2 separate regions of the Homo sapiens genome follow, and region 1 is linked to region 2. Evidence: promoter capture Hi-C in 16 types of primary human blood cells and fetal thymus (Javierre and others, 2016). All regions are on one chromosome and are shown on one strand. Each heading gives the region's core, a stretch centred on a gene start or on the middle of the fragment in contact. The rest is flanking DNA. Distances are from core to core; before and after follow the strand shown.

Evidence for each region. The method cuts DNA at HindIII sites, captures the fragments that hold promoters and counts their contacts. A CHiCAGO score of 5 or more calls a contact.
Region 1: a fragment that was not itself captured here is called in contact with the fragment with the promoter of SLC28A2 in region 2 in 4 of 17 cell types (M2 macrophages, M1 macrophages, naive B cells and 1 more); the score reaches 6.6 in M2 macrophages.

What each region holds. Positions count from the first base shown.
Region 1 is chr15:45,385,746-45,390,019 of GRCh38, forward strand. It overlaps a transcript of GATM not described here. Among named protein-coding and RNA genes, the nearest start is that of GATM, 9.3 kb to the left of the region's middle. The HindIII fragment of the contact is 2,225 bases long and covers 1,177-3,401 here.
Region 2 is chr15:45,250,984-45,255,026 of GRCh38, forward strand. It overlaps SLC28A2 (solute carrier family 28 member 2), which reads left to right and starts at 1,251. Exons shown (of 18, transcript NM_004212.4): 1 at 1,251-1,295; 2 at 2,217-2,313; 3 at 2,449-2,537. The coding sequence starts at 2,233. SLC28A2-AS1 (SLC28A2 antisense RNA 1) reads right to left here. Exons shown (of 5, transcript NR_120335.1): 4 at 2,883-2,951; 5 at 598-1,089. The HindIII fragment of the contact is 6,298 bases long and covers 53-4,043 here.

The DNA of each region.
Region 1 (4,274 bases), core at 1,039-3,538, 140 kb after region 2:
AGGGCGAGAAAACAGCTCTTATCACCAGAGACTTGGAATTGCAGTTGACAATGGACCTAAACAAACATACTTAATGAAGTAACTCTTATCTTTCACCAGTTTTATACCCCACCATATATCTCCTAGTGACTCCTCTAGAAAATTCACTGTCCCTAGCCAGATTGTCTTTGTCCTGTCATTTCTACTCAAATTTATTGTTCCTTGTCTAAAAAAGTATAAAAGCATCTTGCTTTGACTACTTCTTCACACTTCACTTTCCTGTGGAGATCCTTATGTACATGTAAAAGTAATAAAATTTGTACGCTTTTCTCTTGTTAATCTGCCTGCTCTCAATTTGGCCTCTACATCCAGCTAAAAAGCCCACTAAGAGCTAAAAGTGGGGTTGGAAGTGATCTCTGGCTTCCTCACAATATTAACTGAAAAATAACCGAATATGAAATTGTATGTACAGTATTCTCTGAACCATGTTGAACATATGTATGCACATAAAATTCTGGAAAGAAATTTACCAAAATTTAAATAGTGACAATCTTTGCGTGGAGATGTAATGGGTAACCTTTATATTCTTCTTTCTGCTTTTCTGCAATTTGTATACCTTTCTCTATGAGACTTTGCTACATTTATAATCAGAAAAAAACCCTAATCGCTATTATTTTTAGAAGCAAAAGGCCCTGTGTCTGCTTAGAAACAACTCTTGTTGTCACAGATATTTTCCCTTGCAGCTCTGCCCTAAGAAAACTGTAGATACTGCTCTGGGAGAAAACCTCCCACAGCCACCTGGCTCCTCTCATGTCCATACACGCTGTGATCTGGCAGAACAGGGAGATTAGCGTGGGAAGACACTTCTGCCTATCTCTCTGTTGTGCACTTTGCCCAGTTCTCAGTCTGTGCTTGCTATTTCGCTCCTGTCTGTCTCGCTTGTTGCTGGTAGGGAATTTTCCAGAATTATCATTCCCAGCAAAAGGCACTTCTCTAGCTGGGCCCTGGGAATTGAAGAAGTAACATTAGCCAGTTTTCTGCATCCCTCTCGAATATTCTTACTTGTCTTGGGCAACATCCCAGGAGGAAGCACTCATCTCCTCCACTTATGGTCATTTAAGTGACAAAACGTCCTCCATAGTCACGTTCTCCCTGCTAAAGAAAGGTCTGTTCAAATAGAATTATTCAGAATTTGCAAGCTTAGAATCAAAGTAGGGTCCAATATTGAACTTTTGCTTAGGAACTCTAAATTACTGTTTACCATGCTATTCAGAATTTAAAAGCAAAACTGAATACGAAGACCATATAAGACTATATATTGCAAAGGCTAAACTAGAAATATTCAGCTATAAGATGGAAATGGAATGACCTGTGAGGCATGAGGTTTTTATGAAGGCTTGATTTAGTAATGACAGACTATGTCAGCCAACACACTGCCTTTTCTGGAAAGTTATGTTGTTCATGTGACAGCAATTAAATCATTTCAGGGGACAGATTTCAGACATTCCCAAGAGAATGCATCTGCAACTTGAGATACTTGTGCTTTTCTGGCACAATTCTGTAGCAACCAAATTTCTGACTCTGCAGCCAATTTAGCACTGGGAAAATCCAGTAATTCCCAGATATTTACAAACAGCCAATGAAGATAAATGTTTACTAGTATAGGACTAATCCCTCATTGACTCTGATTAGATCAAACAGTACTATTTCATGGTATTCCTGTTTTTTTTTTTTTATGTCCAAACCTTCTGTAACATCTCCAGAAGAATGAAGCAACTTCTTCCTGTGTACCACAGCACACCTTGTTAATACTTTTTTTAGAGCACTTATACATGGCTGTAACAGCTTGTTTACATATCTCTTTCGCCAGACCTCTGGAGAGCAAGGGCTACAGCTCCTGTTGTACTTAGCACAGTGATTATCACTTAATAAATGTTTGTGGAATCAATTGCCTAGTCAAAGTTTTATTTTTTCCCTTGGAATTTGTACCTCACTTTAAAACAATATTTACAATGTTTGAGAGAGGCATATTTACAGAATTTTAAAACTAAGAGGGATCTTATTTTATAGTTGGGATAACCTCATGGCCCAAGGCTAAATGATTCATCCAAATTCACCACACTCTGCTGAGATAAATTCTCAGTGCAATTCTTTTTTCAAGAGTTAAGTGAACTTTTGGAAAACAGACTTTGATTTTATACTCTGGGAATTCAAATCTGAAAACCTTAAACTTCCAAGTCTAGCAAAATGGTGCTATAGGTCTCAAGAAGGGCTTTAAGTGTGATTATATTAATTTTTAAAAAATTAAAGACAGAATCTTGCTATGTTGCCCAGGCTGGTCTTGAACTCCTGGGCTCAAGTGCTCCTCCTGCCTCAGTCAGCCCCCCAGAGTGCTGAGATTACAGGCGTGAGGTACTATACCAGACTGATTAAGTGTGGATATCTTAAGTAGGTATTCTGCACAAGTCAGCCTTCTAAACTTGTGGAAGTCTGTCTGTACTTTAATATGTTAAAATAATTTTCATGAGTTTGTGGGAAATTTTGTTTTCTATCTGTTTTTGGATTTACAGAAAAGTTACAAAGATAGTACAGAGTTCCTGTACACCCATCGCCCTGTTTTGGTTTACCCTGTTATTGTCTTCCACAGCTAAGATACATTTGCTAAAACTAAGCTACCAACACTGTAAATCATTATTAACTAAACTCCAGACTTTACTTGGATCTTACCAGTTTTTCCACTAACATTCTTTTTCTGTTCCAATATCCAATCCAGGATACCACACTATATTTCGTTGTAATGTCTTCTGTGATTGCCTCTGCTCTCTGACAGTATCTTAGTCTTTCTTTGGTTTTTCAGGACTTCGTCAGTTTTGAGGAAAACTAATCAGATATTTTGTAGTCTATGCTTTGAACTGGGTTTATGTATTTCTCATGATTGGACTGGCATTATGGAGTTCTGGAAAGAATACTACCGAGATGATGTGCCCTTTTCATCGTATCGTATCAGGTAGTATGTAATATTCTCATATCACTGATGGTATTAACCCTGTCATTTGCTTAAGGTAGTGTCTGCCGGGTTTTTCCTCTGTAAAGTTGGTTGGTGTTTTTTCCTTTTCATACTTTATTCTTTGGAATTGAGTCTCCGAGACCAACTCCCCTGGAAAGGAAGAGGGGTTTACATACATATATTGCTTGGAATTCTTCTGCAAGGAAGATTTATCTCTTTTCCTCTCCTTATGGAAAATTTAGTTTGATAAGTAATAATTTTCTTAGTTGGAGGAAGTTAAAGTTATAATTGTGCAAGACAGTAACGTTTGGCAGATATAAAATAGTTGGAATATGAGTTTAAAAGATAAAGCCCTCCTTAGGGGATATCATCATGGCCAACACATTTCATATCAATAAACTTTCCAGACAACTGAAGCTTTTTCCTTTAACACTAAAAGTTTTTAAATATATAAACTTCTCCCATTTGTATGGCTGCCTTTCTAAGATGAATTAAATACTTTTCATCTTCTTGAACAGAATATCCTGAACACAATTTAACCTTTTTACAAAAATTGGTCATTATACTGAAATTCACAGCAGTGATGACGGTTGAACTTGATGACCTCTAAGGTTTCTTCCAATCCAAGTTTCTATGGTTTGATAACTATCCAACAAAATTAATGAAGCTATGCTCCCAAATAATCAAAGACTTCTTGTTTTTGCAGGGTTTTTTGTTTTGTTTTGTTTTTTAGACAAAGTCTTGCTCTGTTGCCCAGGCTGAAGTGCAGTGGCACAATCTGGGCTCACTGCAAGCTCCACCTCCCAGGCTGAAGTGATCCTCCCACCTCAGTCACCTGAATAGCTGGGACAGCAGGTGCATGCCACCATGCCCAGGTAATTTGTGTATTTTTTGCAGAGATGGGTTTTTGCCATGTTGCTCAGGCTGACTTCTTGTTTTTAACTTAAGGTTTGTATCTTGGAGTAGTGGTACAGAAAGTCTCAGCCTCACTTCTAGACTAGAAAGAAGCAATAGGTATTCTTACAAAGGCATCCAGGGATGCACATAGGAATCACTTGGGGAGCTTGTTAAAAGGCAAATTCTGATTCAGGCCTAAGATTTTGCATTTCTTTTTTTCTTTTTTCTTTTTCTTTTTCTTTTTTTTTGGAGACAGAGTCTCACACTGTTGCCCAGGATGGAGTGCAGTGGCGTGATCTCAGCTCACTGCAACCTCCACCTCCCAGGTTCAAGCAATTCTTGTGCCCCTGCCTCCCGAATAGCTGGGACTACAGGCACACACCCATCTAAT
Region 2 (4,043 bases), core at 1-2,500:
CAATCAGAGTGCAGGGAGGGGTCCTAAGTTTTATCCAGAGGGCGTCATAGGAAGCTTTCTTTCTTTCTTTCCAGGCCAGGATAAGTGTTACCAGCTCTGTAAAGTCTTTCTCTCCCTCTTTTTTTTTTTTTTTTTTTTTTTTGAGATGGAGTCTCGCTCACCCAGGCTGGAGTGCAGTGGCATGATCATGGCTCACTGCAACCTCTGCCTCCTGGGTTCAAATGATTCTCCTGCCTCAGCCTCCTGAGTAGCTGAGATTACAAGCCTGCACCACCATGCCCGGATAATTTTTGTATTTTTAGTAGAGATGGAGTTTCGCCATGTTGGCCAGGGTGGTCTCGAGCGCCTGACCTCAAATGATCCGCCTGCCTCTGCCTCCCAGTGTGCTGGGATTACAAGCGTGATTCACCGCGCTCGACCTGCAAAGCCTTTCTTGACACATCCGTCTTTCCTCACTGATCTGTTCGTTTTTTGATGGCAGAGACCTTGTCTCACTCATTTTTATGTCCTCACACGGAAAACGGTGGCTGGCTAATAGTGGTTACTCAATAAGTATTTGTTGAATGGATTAATAAAATAATTCCTAGCAGTCATTTGGCATGGAATCATGTACAGTCGTGCTGTTTATTGTTTTCTAGGGCATGTCTTTCCAGCACAAAATGATGGTAAATTTTCTGGGTGCAGAGACGGCTCTTACTGTATTTTACAGGCTACCCAGTGCCTAGTCCAGTGGTGGGTAATGCTTACAGGAATGTACCTGTTAGAAGTTCTTACAGAATTCTTTTGTTTTGTTTTGTTTTCTGACAGGGTCTCACTCTGTCGCCCAGGCTGGAGTGCAGTGGCGCAATCACAGCTCACTGCAACCTCCACCTCCAGAGGCTCAAGGGATCCTTCCACCTCCGCCTGCCGAGTAACTGGAACCACAGTCGTGTGCCACCGCGCCCAGCTAATTTTTGTATTTGTTGTAGAGATGTGGTTTCGCCATGTTATCCTGGCTGGTCTCAAGCGATCCGCCCGTCTCGGCCTCCCGAAGTGCTGGGATTACGGGCGGGCGCCACCTCTGCATAAGTCTTAGGCCTGCAAAACAGTCTTAAAAACATATAATATTTAACTTGAGAGGTGCAGTCCTCCTCTACATTGAGGGCAGGCTCAGCGAAGGAGGGCCCAAGACATAAAACTAACCAATGGCAGGAAAGCCCCCATGCCCCACCCAAGCTGCCCCTCCTCCCTCGCAGCTGAGCTTTTCTTTCAGTCCTTCACTGAGGAGCCAGAGGGAATCAATTCCACAAGCTGGGGTAAGTAAAGGTGTTTGGGGGAGGGCAGGTGCCTAATTTACAAATTTTTAAAGAGATCATATTTAAACTAAATGCAGGTAGTTTTGTGCCTAGTCAGGAAGGCCCTAATTTACACAATATAAGTTGGTTATGTGTGTTTAATGAAATTATACTTCAAATGCTTGAAGAGATCACATTTTCAAAAGCAATTCCATGGGGAAGGGAATTTTCTGCAAAGTAAATAAATATCTCAGAATGAACTTATATTCTAATTGTGAATGTCCATGTATTAAATTTGCTTATTCTGAGGCCCAAATGTTTGCTTATTTTGTTTAAAAACTTTACTTGGGATCATTAACATTCATACTAATTATTTTAAATGTAAGTTTTGTTAATTTCACTGATGAGTTCTCTCTGGGGCATAAAAAACCAATTCTTATGCTACATTATAGTCAGGAATTTGAAGGCCTGTAAATTGTTATCTGTTCAGCAATACTTTAGGGTCCGGGTCTTCCCAACTGCCTTCCTCCCTGTTTCCTTCTTACTCAGCAAGCTCAGTGGGGCCTCCCTGGGGCTAAAAGGAGTAGTTACCCTGTGACTCTTTCTTTGAGGGTCCAAGTAGGAACCTTTATAGCCCAGATCCTGGGGCCCTGGGCGGCCCACTGATTCATTTCAATTCCACTGCCTTTCATTTCTCTTCTCCTATCTTACTGCCTCTTCTTTAGCTATTCACAAGAGGAAATAGGATTTTATTTTTCATTATTTATTATATAAAAATTACACATCCAATCTTCTCAATTCTCAGTTCTTAAAGAAATCAACTAAGCCTTCAAAGACTTTTAGTTTTGCGTTTTCCATGGGTAACTGGTCCTAAAAATTCTCCCCATCCCCACAGAACAGAATGACCAATCTTTCAGGCTTGGCCCTGAATTTGTTTTTCAGTTGAGGAGAACAGGAGATGGAGAAAGCAAGTGGAAGACAGTCCATTGCTCTGTCCACAGTGGAGACTGGCACAGTGAACCCGGGGCTGGAGCTCATGGTAATCACCAGTTTAGTTTCTCTCTGCAGAGCTGTGGGCTGCTGCATGGGCTCCTGTAGGGTATTTGGCTGCTCTCAATCCCCATCATCCCTGGCAGGGCTCCATGACTGATCCCAATGCTCTCTGTGCTTGTAGGAAAAAGAAGTAGAGCCTGAGGGAAGCAAGAGGACTGACGCACAAGGACACAGCCTGGGGGATGGACTGGGCCCTTCCACTTACCAGAGGTACTGGTGTTTTGGAATCTTGTTCAGTTAGGAAAGGATCTAGGGTGGGCTGCCCCTTCAGGCAGCTTGTGGTATTATCACAACCGCTCCACCTTACCATGTGTACATATATATATGTATCTTACATAATTAATTAACTTAAACATGTGCCATAAACTCCATAAAAAAAAAGGAGTTCAGCAGTATCAGTGTTGGTTGGACTGAAAATAAAAATAATAACAATGGTAATAATGGCTAACAGATTTTGAGTGTATACTTACTATTTTGCAGATTGCTTTATGTTATACATTTATTTTCATTACAACAGGTAGGTATTCATTTTAATCCCTTTAGAAATTAATTTACCATATCATTAAAAAAACAGTAGCTCTTCTGGAATACTCAGATTTGGGAATGGTGGAGAGGAAGGGAAACCTGGGGAGAAAACACAGAAGGACTTATTATAAGGATAATAAAGACAGTAAAAAAGATCTTAGAAGTCAAAAGAGAAGAGTCTCAAGAATGAAGAAGGTACAGTCCACAGTGCTATGTGAACAGGGGTCTAGGAAGGAGGAGTGAGAAAAATCTTTGAATTTGTTTGTGGATCTGGTCCCAGAAGTAATGTCAAAGAAAATTGTTTGAGTAAAATAGATCATATGGAAAGAAGCAATGTTCCATGGTCTGGAAAACAGTGGGTATTTATAAAAGAGTGCAGAAGTCATACACTAAAAGCTGAGAAGAGGACATTGGATAGCTTCTAAAGGGAATACGGTCATGAGCTACATAATGATGTTTCAGTCAATGATGGACCGCATTATACAATGGTGTATAATCATGTATATCAACGGTGTATATCATTACACAACGGTGGTCCCATAAAATTATAATACTGTATTTTTACTGTGCCTTTTCTATGTTTAGATATGTTTAGATACACAAATACTTACCATTGTGCTATAGTTGCCTACAGTATTAAGTACAGAAACATGCTGAACAGATTTGCAGCCTAAGAATAATAGGATCCACCATATAGCTTGGATGTGTCGTAAGCTATACCATCTAGGTTTGCATAAGTACACTGTAAGATGTTAGCATAATTATGAAATTGACTAATGTTGAATTTATCAGAATGTATCCCTGTTGTTAAGTAACACATGACTATATATGGAGATGATTCAGAGCAGCTTCCAAACAAAAGGTTATTTTTATATTTTCTTCTCTTTATTTTTGAAAGTTACCTCAGTGACTTCTTAAAATTTTTAATTGTTTTATTCACAATTTGCTTCTCTCTAAAAATTTTTATATTATCATGTTTTATATATACTGAATTGACAGTAAATTCTTTGTAAGTTTTTCATGCTTACATGATATTTCATATTTTACTTAGCAGTGTGGCCGTTAATCATGTGAGTCACATTGCTTGTGTCTATATTTGAACAGTGGTATGCTAGTAAATGTTTAAGAATTGACTCTCCACCGGGCTAGTGGCTCATGCCTGTAATCCCAGCACTTCGTGAGGCTGAGGTG